Linked DNA regions of Homo sapiens: region 2 is linked to region 1. The links are contacts of gene promoters, found by promoter capture Hi-C in blood cells and fetal thymus (Javierre and others, 2016). All regions are on one chromosome and are shown on one strand. Each heading gives the region's core, a stretch centred on a gene start or on the middle of the fragment in contact. The rest is flanking DNA. Distances are from core to core; before and after follow the strand shown.

Region 1 (3,250 bases), core at 643-3,142:
TGACGAAACCCCATTTCTAGTAAAAGTTCCAGATCAACATGGTGAAAGCCCCTCTCTACTAAAAATACAAAAATTAGCGGCGTGGTGGCAGGCGCCTGTAATATCAGCTACTGGGGAGGCTGAGGCAGGAGAATCGCTTGAATCTGGGAGGCGGAGGTTTCAGTGAGCCGAAATTGCACCACTGTACTCCAGCCTTGGGCAACAGAGCGAGACTCTGTCTCAAAAATAAAAAATAAAAAAAAAAGATTACCCTCTCGTAATTTTTCATGCTATTAAGGGAAGAGACAATAAAAAAAATAAGTAAATATTCATTACGCCAGATAGTGATAAATTCTTTGGAGAAAAACAAAGCAGGGTAAGGGAATGGAGAATTTTGGGGGGCTTGCAATTTTCATTAGGGTGGCAATTTTCCTTTTCACGGAAAAGGAGGTGTGTGATAAAGCTGGAAGGAGGTGAGCGAGCATCAGACATGGAATATAAGGATGCAGAGGGTGAGGGGGTAGGGAAAGCATTTTAGGGAGAGGGTACTGCAAGCACGAAGGCCATGAGGCAAAAACCTGTGCTCGGCAATTTGTCTTGGCCACAAAAGCTTTATCCCAGTCGTCAGTCCATTAAACCCTGTAGCTTTAAGTGTTGTGAGATCACAATCTTTATTTTTTAACTTGTGATGGTTCTGGACGGCAATTGCTGTTTCCTGCAATCTGTGGATGAATGAATGAGCAAAGCAGTTAGCAGCGGGATGAGTACAGGGGAGCAGCTCCACACCTGACACCTTATCCAAGTTCCCCCAGACCCTTGGCGCCCTGGTTCCCCCAGAACTTCGTTTGCATTCGTCTTTAAATGTCTTCTCAGTTTGCCTTGGGTCAGTTATTTGTATACCGATTAGACCTGTGCCGCCCACTGCGGTAGCAGCTAGTAGGAATTGGATGTGCTTTAAGTGTAAATACCAGATTTCCAAGACTTGCTGCAAAAACTGTAAAACATTCCACTAACGATTTTGCAATACTGCCTACATGCTGAAATAATTTGACTTTATTGGGTTGAGATATATTACTGTAACTTTCTTTTTTCATTAGAAAAATGTAGCCACTAGCAAATGTGAAGTGTCAGGCGTGTGGCGCGCAGATGCCTCTTTAAACTGGATGGCGCCGGGTTGGCCCTCACTATCAGCGGGCTCCCGACAGGAGGCGCCCCAGCTTGCGGCCGGGGGCAGCGCCTACCAGGCAGTTGGCAGGCAGTTCCAGCCCCGGGCCACGGCACTGCAGGGCCCGAGCCAGGTTACGGCAACCGGGGGCCCTGCAAACAGCTCCCGATTAGGGGGTGCTTTTGGGTGGGAAAGCGCAGGCCCTGGATGGAGGCCCGACCTGCGGCGCTCCAGCTCATCGCCCCGCCTCTTTGCGGCAGAGCTCAGGCCGGCGCAAACCGGTTCAGTGCTAGGACTGACGTCTCGCGCCGCCCAACCGCAGCACGCCCCCGCCTCCCCAGTCCTCTGGAAGAGACAGGGAACGTCTAGCCGCCAGGGTCCCGGGAGGCGGCTCTGTACCAGACGGACTATACTGAGAGCCTATGACAATAGCCGAAGGTGCCGGGGGGGGGGGGGGGGTGGCCTACTACCAATAAAGGAAGGGGAGGGGCGGGCCCTCGTTAGCTTCCCCCCCCTACCACGCTTCCTCGGGCGCGGGTCTACCCAGAGCCTAACGGGCGCGCGAGTGTGGGGGAAGGGCCTGGCGCGGGCTGGAGACTGCGCAGTGCGGTGCCGGCCGGGAGGGGGGGGGGGGGTGACGTAATCTCCGTCCGCGGCCGCGGCGCCCCGCCCCGCGACACCCTCCGCGAACCGCGAGAGCGCAGCGCAGGCGGTCCGCAGCAGCCGCAGCTCGGGGGCGGTGCCTGCCTTGCAGCCTCCCCTCGGCGATCGCGCAGCCCCATCTTTGTCCGGCCTCCGCGCTTTGTTCTCGGCGCCCGGGCCTTGGCCAGCCTGGCCAGCCGCCGAGCAGCCCCCACGCCGCGCTGGCGTCGTCCTCGCCTCCCTCGCCGCCGCCCCCCGCGCGCGGCCGGGCCTTGCCCCCCATGGTGTCCCGGCCAGAGCCCGAGGGCGAGGCCATGGACGCCGAGCTGGCGGTAGCGCCGCCGGGCTGCTCGCACCTGGGCAGCTTCAAGGTGGACAACTGGAAGCAGAACCTGCGGGCCATCTACCAGTGCTTCGTGTGGAGCGGCACGGCTGAGGCCCGCAAGCGCAAGGTGCGCCCGGCAGCCCACCGCGCGGCGGGCTCGGGGCCTTCTGCCGCTCCTGAGGCCGGCCGGCGGAGGGGCCCTTTTCCTGCCCTCTTCCCTTCCCCCGTTGCCTTTCCCTGTCCTTCCTCTTCCTCTCTCCTTCTGCCCTCTCTTCTCTTTACCCCTTCCCCCTCCTTTCCTTCCCCCCTCAACTCTCTCCCTTCCCTTATCTCCTCATCTTCCTATCCTTCCCCTCTCCCCCCTTCCCCCATTCTTCCTTTCCCTCCCCCTCCTCTCTGTCCCCTCCCCCTCCTCTCTGTCCCCTCCCCCTCCTTTCTCTCCGCCCTCCCCCTCCCTTATCCTTCTTGGCCCGGGAGGGGCGAGTGCTTCCGGGCCGGGGGTGGTGTTCTCCTGCCCTGCTGCCTGGGGAGCCTGGGACTTCGGTGGGCGGTCCCGGGCGTTCCTGCGCGAGGTCCTTGCGGGGAACTCTCCTGGTTCTGGAGGGTTCGGGGCTGGATGCGGGTGCAGAGAAAGAAATATTTCAAAAAAATGAGTAAAGGATGGGGGGCTGTCGAGTTCTGGGCGTTGGTCTGCAGCGGTCACCCGCCGCCAGGAGCGACCTTGGACGGGAGCTGGGGCAGGAGGCGGGCTGGGGGGCGCGGGGCCGGAGCTTCGCGGCTGCCTCGGGGCCCGCGAGGAGCTGGAGGTGGAGGGCGGCAGGGGCTGGGGCCGGGGCGAGCCTGTGGGTGCGGAGCCACAGCCCGGGTTTGCGTTGCGGCTGAGGAGTAGACTTGGAAGCGCGCCGTGGGCTGTGGGAGGCCTTAACCAGGAGTGAGTCCCCTCGGGGAGCCCAGTCTTGCGTCCCGCAGTTAGGCTTGGTAAGGGTTTGGAAATCAAAACGTAACGTGATTCTTCTATGTGAATAAAGTTTATTTTTACAGTTTCACGCGCTTTTGTAGATTACAATCCGAGATTGGGAGTTGTGAGGGCAGTTTCCACCTTGAGTGGCATTTTTTTATTTATGGGAATACCAACAGGC
Region 2 (3,328 bases), core at 533-3,032, 890 kb after region 1:
TGAGCCAGCTGTAGCTCCCTGAACACACCCTATTGTTTCAGGCCTCTATGCTTTCATATCTGCTATATTCCGTCGGTTTCAACACCTCGTCCATAACTGAGCTGCCTGGCAAATGCTTATTCATCTGCTGTGAACTGAGTTGTGTCCTTCCTAAATTCATGTTGAAGCCCTACCCCCCACAATGTGATAGTATTTGGAGACAGGGCCTTTAGGAGGTAATTAAGGTTAAATGAGGTCATAAGGGTGGGGGGCCCTAATCTAGCAGGATAGGTGGCCTTATAAGAAGAGGAAGAGGCTGGCGGAGGCTCACGCCTGTAATCCCAGCACTTTGGGAGGCTGAGGCAGGCAGATCACGAGGTCAAGAGATCAAGACCATCTGGCCAACATGGTGAAACCCCATCTCTACCAAAAATACAAAAATTAGCTAGGCGTGGTGGCACGTGCCTCTAGTCCCACCTTCTCAGCTGAGGCAGGAGAATCGCTTGAACCCGGGAGGCAGAGGTTGCAGTGAGCCGAGATCGCACCATTGTACTCCAGCCTGGCAACAGAGCAAGACTCCATCTCAAAAAACAAAACAAAATAAAACAAATAAAAATAAAAAAAGAAGAGGAAGAGATCTTTCTCTCTCTCTCTTTCTGTTATGTGAGGTCACAGTGAGATGGTGGCATGTATAAGCCAAGAAGACTCCTCACCAGAACCCAGCCATGCTGGCACTCTGAACTCAGGCTTCCAGCCTCCAACACTCCGAGAAATAAATTTCTGCTGTTTAAGCCATCCAGTCTGTGCAATTGGTTATGGCAGCTGAAGCAGAGTAATATATATCATCTTTTAAATTCTTGCTCTGTTATCACCCCCCTTTGGTCTGCCTGCACATCTCAGACAGAATTCAATGCTGTCTCCCTCATGGTACTTCTGTACCTGTCAATGCTTGTATTATTTTATTTTATTTTATTTTTTGAGACAGTTTTGCTCTGTTGCCCAGGCTGGAGTGCAATAGCGTGATCTCAGCTCACTGCAATCTCCGCCTCCTGGGTTTAAGTGATTTTCGTGCCTCAGCCTCCCAAGTAGCTGGGATTACAGGTGCATGCTACCATGCCTGGCTAATTTTTTTATTTTTGTAGAGATGGGGTTTCACCATGTTGGTCAGGCTGGTCTCAAACTCCTGACCTCAAGTGATCCACCTCCCTCTGCCTCCCGAGTAGCTGGGATTACAGGCATGAGCCACCAGGCCCAGCTGGGGTTTCTCCCACAGAACTAGCATGTCAAAGACAAGAGCCTCCCGGGTTCAAGCGATTCTCCTGCCTCAGCCTCCCAAGTAGCTGGGATTACAGGCGCCTGCCACCATGCCCAGCTAATTTTTCTATTTTAAGTAGAGACAGGGTTTCACCATGTTGGTCAGGCTGGTCTCGAACTCCTGACCTCAGGTGATCCACCTGAGTTGGCCTCCCAAAGTGCTGGGATTACAGGCATGAGCCACCATGCCCAGCCATGGATAATTTTAAAAAGCAGTTCAGGGATCAGTCAGGTTGTGGCAGTCACACATCCTGGGCAAATGAAAAACCAACTGCCTGAATGTTATATGAACAGGATAAAATTTCCTGTGGAATCAAAGAGTCCAGTGGAATCAAGCAACACGCGGAAGTGAAGCTGATGTGCTGTGTATCTGATGTAAACCTTAAAAGTGGCTCTGATGATCATGGTGACAGGGTGACATGTCAAAGACGCCTGTGATGACTATAAAAAAAGCAACAGTGTACAGACACTCCTCAACTTATGATGGGTTACGTCCCAATAACCCATTGTAAACTGAAAATATTCTAAGTCGAGATGGGCTTTGTAGACAGGATGGATGCAAAAATGCTGGCAAACAATATTCAAAAAAATGCTGACAACGCAGTACTGTTGAAGGTTTACCCCCATGATTGCAGGGCTGACTAGGAGCTGCGGCTCACAACCACTGCCCAGCATCACAAAAAAGTGTAGCTCCACATATCACTAGCCTGGTAAAAGATCAAAATTCAAAATTTGAAGTACAGTATAGCTTTTGTACCATCACAAAGTCAAAAAATCCTAAGTCAAACCATCATAAGTCAGGGACTGTCTGTAATTTCTAAATTACTGTATTTCTATAATGTGTAATTTCAAATGTAAAGGTATAACTAAGTTGACAACTTGGACATTATAATTACATATTTTTTACTTCACCTATAATCTAAGCGTTTTAAGGAAGACAAAAAGGTTTTTATGGAACTTCACTGAATATAAAGATCCCTTATATACAGGCATAAACAATAAAATAATATATATGTGGTCCCATTTTTATTAAAAATTTCTATATTCTACTGTCCATATTAATATGTGTAGAAATAAATTTTGACATGTATATAGCAAATTATTAGAAATAACTATATCTGAAATATAGAATTAGGAAAGACTTTTTTTCTATACCAAATATCTGTCTTAATAAATATATTTTACTACTATGACCAGAACACATTAAAAAAAGTACATATCCTTAAGCTCAGCAGTTATTCTTACAGAAATTTATTTGAAAGAAATAGTTACAGGCCAGTCACGGTGGCTCAAACCTGTAATCCCAGCACTTTTTTTTTTTTTTGAGACAGAGTTTCACTCGTTGCCCAGGTTGGAGTGCAGTGGTGCGATCTCGGCTCACTGCAACCTCCGCCTCCCGAGTTCAAGCGATTCTCCTGCCTCAGCCTCCCGAGTAGCTGGGATTACAGGCATGCACCACCACACCTGGCTAATTTAGTATTTTTAGTAGAGACGGGATTTCTCCATGTTGGTCAGGCTAGTCTCGAACTCCCGACCTCAGGTGATCTGCCCGCCTCGGCCTCCCAAAGTGCAGGGATGATCCCAGCTACTTGGGAGGCTGAGGCAGAAAAAATCACTTGAACCTGTGAGGCAAAGGTTGTGATGAGCTGAGACTCCGTCCCAAAAAAAAAAAGAAAAAAGGCCGGGCACAGTGGCTCACGCCTGTAATCCCAGCACTTTAGGAGGCTGAGGCGGGCAGATCACCAGGTCAGGAGATCGAGACCATCCGGACTAAAACGGTGAAACCCTGTCTCTACTATACTAAAAAAAAAATACAAAAAAATTAGCCGGGCGTGGTGGCGGGCGCCTGTAGTCCCAGCTACTCGGGAGGCTGAGGCAGGATAATGGTGTGAACCCGGGAGGCGGAGCTTGCAGTGAGCCGAGATCGCACCTCTGCACTCCAGCCTGGGAGACAGAGTGAGACTCCATCTCAGAAAAAAAAAGAAGAAAAGAAATAGTTACAAATATACACAAACATCTAGCTTGCAAGATAATT

The links. The method cuts DNA at HindIII sites, captures the fragments that hold promoters and counts their contacts. A CHiCAGO score of 5 or more calls a contact.
Region 2: a contact is called between a fragment that was not itself captured here and the fragment with the promoter of USP22 in region 1, in 1 of 17 cell types (naive B cells). The highest score is 5.7, in naive B cells.

Annotation. Positions count from the first base shown.
Region 1 is chr17:21,041,653-21,044,902 of GRCh38, reverse strand. It overlaps USP22 (ubiquitin specific peptidase 22), which reads left to right and starts at 1,892. Exons shown (of 13, transcript NM_015276.2): 1 at 1,892-2,238. The coding sequence starts at 2,068. RefSeq lists enhancers at 174-1,121, 1,122-2,071 and a silencer at 1,607-2,206. The HindIII fragment of the contact is 4,087 bases long and covers 592-3,250 here.
Region 2 is chr17:20,149,927-20,153,254 of GRCh38, reverse strand. All of the region lies in intron 3 of SPECC1 (sperm antigen with calponin homology and coiled-coil domains 1), which reads right to left. Among named protein-coding and RNA genes, the nearest start is that of SPECC1, 140 kb to the right of the region's middle. The HindIII fragment of the contact is 3,769 bases long and covers 1-3,328 here.